Linked DNA regions of Homo sapiens: region 2 is linked to region 1. The links are contacts of gene promoters, found by promoter capture Hi-C in blood cells and fetal thymus (Javierre and others, 2016). All regions are on one chromosome and are shown on one strand. The core of a region is centred on a gene start or on the middle of the fragment in contact, and the rest is flanking DNA. Distances in the headings are between cores, read along the strand shown.

Evidence for each region. The method cuts DNA at HindIII sites, captures the fragments that hold promoters and counts their contacts. A CHiCAGO score of 5 or more calls a contact.
Region 2: a fragment that was not itself captured here is called in contact with the fragment with the promoter of OR4K13 in region 1 in 6 of 17 cell types (M1 macrophages, non-activated CD4 T cells, M2 macrophages and 3 more); the score reaches 6.9 in M1 macrophages.

Annotation. Positions count from the first base shown.
Region 1 is chr14:20,034,732-20,037,431 of GRCh38, reverse strand. OR4K13 (olfactory receptor family 4 subfamily K member 13) reads left to right here and starts at 1,394. Exons shown (of 2, transcript NM_001004714.2): 1 at 1,394-1,494; 2 at 2,451-2,700. The coding sequence starts at 2,674. The HindIII fragment of the contact is 9,053 bases long and covers 1-2,700 here.
Region 2 is chr14:19,768,726-19,771,533 of GRCh38, reverse strand. No RefSeq gene overlaps it. Among named protein-coding and RNA genes, the nearest start is that of OR4M1, 3.4 kb to the left of the region's middle. The HindIII fragment of the contact is 157 bases long and covers 1,256-1,412 here.

The sequences.
Region 1 (2,700 bases), core at 145-2,644:
ATCATTCTCAGTAAATTATCGCAAGAACAAAAAACCAAACACCGCATATTCTCACTCATAGGTGGGAATTGAACAATGAGAACACATGGACACAGGAAGGGGAATGTCACACTCTGGGGACTGTTGTGGGGTGGGGGAAGGGGGGAGGGATAGCATTGGGAGAGATACCTAATGCTAGATGACGAGTTAGTGGGTACAGCACACCAGCAGGGCACTTGTATACATATGTAACTAACCTGCACATTGTGCACATGTACCCTAAATCTTAAAGTATAATAATTAAAAAAAAAAAAAGAAAAAAAAAGAAAATAATATTGGATTTTTAGGGTGGGTGAGGAGTTGATTATGAATATCCAGGAGAAGTTAGGGATTGATAAGGTAGTTATCACAGGTTTATAAAGAAGAGAGTGATATGATGAAAAATAATTTTTATAGGTAATGTTAAATTCATTCTAAGAATAAACTGTATTTGTGGGGAGATTACATTATGCAACATCTACAAAGTGGAATTCTATACACCTATTAAAAAGTTATGTTTCTATATGTTAATATAAACATATTTAAATGTAATAAGTTAAAAACTCAAGAAAAATAGCTATACATATAATATATAATCTGCAGTCTTAATAAAATGATATAAATATAAATACCTGTAACACTAACACACACACACTGTACTGAAGTGTGTATTATTTTTCTGGAAAGTTATCTAAGAAGCTCTTAAAATGTTCAGTCAGTCTTTCTGTTATCTGTGATGTGCTTTTTTCACATTGGCATAAACTACCTTTTTTTTTAAAAGATAATTAAAAGAAAAAAACATATTTTAACCAGCTTTTTAAGAATGGCTGTTCTATTTCTGATTTTAAAATACTTCAACATTCAATTTGACATTTAAAAATAAATATTGTTAAAATTCCTAATGTTGTGGATTTTTCTGTGGATTAAGTCAGCTGACTTAATCTAGATCCTGAATATGCACTACATAGTTTATTCATTCAACAGATATTCACTTAGTGTTTTTGATATGCACTATTCCAGATGTGGAGGATTTATAAACTTCTTTGTATGTATTTGAAAATTGTTCTCTTCTGTTTAAATGCAGCTTCAAAAATTGGGTTTCAAAAAGAAGCATTAGTAGGAATTCTTAAATATTAGTCATAAAACTGAAGAGAGCTATTACCTTTATAGACATATAAATGAATGGCTCTAATTACATATTTGATGAAATTTAATATTTTGCATCAAAGTTTCTCAGAGTGGGAAATTGGCCAACAGATATGTTTACATAGGGAAAAAAATACATCCCTAGTTGGATAAGTGTTCCTATGGGATTATCTCATAGAAACATATAGCACTATGGTCTCTATTTTTTCTGTTTCTGATGATTGGAAGAGTAAATTGCAGATAACTGATGGGGATACAGGAAAAGGAGATAAAAGGCCATTCCTGGGATTCACGTACGACGCCATCACGAAAGTTTTTTTCCCCTGTCTTGTAAGTAATAACAGCACAAAAAGATGACTACAAATACTTTATTTACTGAAGGTGTTTTGTAAGACCTAGATTAATTTAAAACTATTAGCAACGGAGGCAATTTTTTTAAAAGCTGAACCAATAGAACCAGTTTGTAATAAGCATGAGCCGATGACAAATTTTGTCATAAATTTAGATTATACTGAAAGAACTGTATTTCTTTTACCAACATAAATGTTACATCAAGCTAAGTCATTTTGAAACCTATGACAACCATACACAGGCCAACCAGCTAACCACTACATAGCAATAACCAGGTAAATGAATAAATGAATGCAAGCTGAAAGTGAAATTAGTCAATTACATTTGACTGTGGGTTGTTTGTACACATTGTCTAACCATCTAGAGGAGGTATTTGATGTGAATAATATGAAATGTTGAATGAACGAATTATATAAATATATATAAATATATGAAATGTATGTAATATACATGTTTAATATATATATACTATACATATACTTGACACTTCAAAAGTGTGTAGTGACTACTGCTAATACTGATCTGTGAGGGATTCATGCAAGAATGGAGCATGGAGGAAATAAGGTAAGTTTCTCAGGACCTAATTCATATTTCTTTACCAGAGTCCATTTCAAAACATGGTTCTTGAGAATCCTGGATGTATTTTTGATATCCTTTCCACATTAATAAAACTCAATATTATTCTGTGACTATAAAACTCACCAGAATCATTATCTTATTCATAGAGATCTTTATAGCAGAAAGAGGCATTCGATACCATATAGTCCAAATTCTTTTTTTCACTGAGAAGAAAACCCTCAAAAGGAGAGTTACTTGTCCTGTGTCACCCAGTGAGCAGCTTACCCAGGTGTCCTGTAGAGGTCTTCTGATTCTAATTCATGACCTATAGTTTTGTGGTTTCATGTACTATTAATGTTTTTATTTTTGTCTTCCAGAAACTTATATTCTGAATTCTACTGACTATTTGGGATACTTCTCTGGGCCATTAGTAAAATCACTGACTGACAAAATTCCACAAAAGTAAGGGTCCTTGTAAGTTCAAGTGCCTTGACTGAGTACCAAATGTGGACATCAACATGAACATTTCTTTCCAATATGCATCATTTCCCTACCCCTTATTCTCACTTATTTTGATCATTATGGGATAAAGTTGACGATATGGAAAGAGCAAACCATTCAGTGGTA
Region 2 (2,808 bases), core at 85-2,584, 270 kb after region 1:
CCTCTGGGAGTCAAGGTCTGAGCCCCCAGGAAGTGTTACAGCTCTTGTTCGTTCTCACTGCCGACAGCTTCAGCAAATGGGGGTATGTCACAGCTCATTCAGTCCTGCTGCCCACAGCTCAGCAACTGGGGACGTGTGGCACCCAGCATTTTTTTTTTCACTCCTGTAGCTTGGTGAACAGGAGCGTGTCTTACAACTCTTTTCGCACCCACTGTTCAGTGGATTCCGGATTCTTGTCCCACAACCAACAGGAATGAAGCATATAGACACCGCAGAGTGAGCAAGGCTGATGAGATTTTTACTGAGCGGCAGAAAAACTCATGACAACAAGAGAGTAGCCAAAGTGGGTAGCCCTCTGTGTAAGAGTGGGACTGAAAGCAGAGAGCCATCTGTGAGGCTGAGTCTGGGGTTTTTATGGGCTCAGAATGGAGGAATGTGTGCTGACTGGTTCATGGGCAGGCCTGGAAAAAGCACCATTTAATTGACTAAAAGGCACTGAGGAAGTTCTCAGTTGGGTCGTGGACTGCACCTGGAACTGGTGGCTTGGTTTTCAGGCTTCATGTTGTCTTTGGCTTGAAGGTTGGGATTCACCAGGGACTTATACCTGTCTGCCTAGGAATCTGTCTGTCTCCTGCCATTATCAGCTGCACATACCACACTGCTTTCACTACCAAGGAACCCACAATGATCACTGCGCAAACTATAGTACTTAACTCCACAGAGGACTCCAGCAGGTTTAGTCACTGACAAAATCAACACCCAAAGATCACAAAGAAGCAGGAAAACATGACACCACCAAAGGAACAAAATTAATTTCTAGTAACCAACCCCAAAGAATTGGAGATCTATAAATTGCCTGGAAAAAATCAAAATAATTACATAAGGAATCTTGGGGAACTACAAGAGAACACAAATAAATAGTTTAATGAAATCAGGAAGACAATCCAAGAACAAAATGAGAAGCTCAATAAAGAGAGAAAATATTTTAAAAAGAACCAAACAGAAATGTTGGAGCTGAAAAATACAACAGCTAAACTAAAAAAAAATGTAATAGAGGCTTGAACATCAGACTAAATGAAGCAGAATAAAAAAATAAGTGAACTCAAAGACCGAGCATTTTAAATCATCCAGTAAGTGGAGATAAAAGAAAAAAAAGAATAAAACCTACAGAAGCCATGGAATACTATCAAGAGAGCTAACATTAGAATTATCGTAGGTTCAGAAGAAAAATAGAGAGAGCATTAGATAGAAAGCTTATTTAAGGAAATAATCATGGGAAACTTAGCAAATATCCGGAAAGAAATGAGCATCCACATGCACGAAGCCTAAAGTTCTCCAGTCAATTCAACCAAAAAAAGAATCCACAAACATACGTTAACATCAGCCTGGCAAAAATCAAAAACAGAGAAGCTTGTAAGCAGCAAGAGAAAAGAATCATGTCATATAAAAAAGGACCCAAATAAAGCTATCAGTGGATTTCTCAGCAGGAACCTTGAGGATCAGGAGAGAATGAAATAATATATTCAAAGTGATGGAAGAAAAATAAAACTGCCAACCAGCAATATTTTGCCAGCAAAGCTGTCCTTCAGAAATGAAGAAGATAAAGACTTTTTTAGAAAAACAAAAAAAGTTGAGTGAGTCTTCACTATTGCTTGCCTTACAAGAAATGCTAAAGGGGGATTTTTAAGATTAAATAAAAGGCAGCTAATTAGTAACATTAAAACATACAAAAATGTAAAACTAACTGGTAAAGTATATATATGGTTAAATTTAGAATATTCAAACACTATAATGGTGGTGGTGTGAATCACACCATCATTATAAAGTTATAAGATGAATGTATGCAAAATGACTATAGCTATAATAAATTCTTAAGACATACAAAAAATGTAAACTGTAACATCAAAAGCACAATGTAAGAGAAGGGAAGTAAAAGTACAGAGCTTCTTTAGCAATCAAAGTTAAGATGTTATCGTCTTTAAATGAATTGGTTAAACAATAAGAATATTTATGTAAGCCTCATGGCAACCACAAATTAAAAATCTATAGTAAATACACAAAAGATAAACAGAAAAGAATCAAAGCATACCACCAAATAAAATGATCAAATCACAAAGGAAAACAACAAAGGAGTAATAAAGGGATAAAGGATCTACAAAGCAACCAGAAAACAATTAATAAATTGACAATAATAAATCTTTACTTACCAACTATAAATAAGCAAATTTTGTTAATCAAAAGACAAAGAGTGGCTGAATTGATTTATAAAAATAAAATCCAACTTAATGCTGCCTACAAGAAACTCACTTCACCTTTAATAACACACACAGACTAAAAGTAAAGGGGTAAAAAACAAAAATATTCCATGAAAATGAAAATCAAAAAAGAGCAGTAGCAGTTACATGTGTATCAGACAAAATAGACTTTAAATACTGTCACAAGAGACAAAGAAGGTCATTAGATATTGATAAGAAAGTCAATTCATTGAGATAATAGAACAGTTATAAATATGAATACACCCAACATCAGAGCACCTAAATATATAAAGCAAATATTAACAAATCTAAAGCAAGAGATAGACTGCAATGCAATATTAATAGAGAACTTTAATATCCAATTTTCAACAATGGATAAATCATCCAGAAAGAATATTATTAAGAAAACATTGTCTTGAACTACTTCAGACTAAATGAATCTAATAGACATACACAGAATATTCAATCCAACAGCAGAACACACATTCTTCTCAAGCTTACACAGAATATTCTCCTGGACAGATTGTATGTTAAGCCACAAACAAGTCTTAAC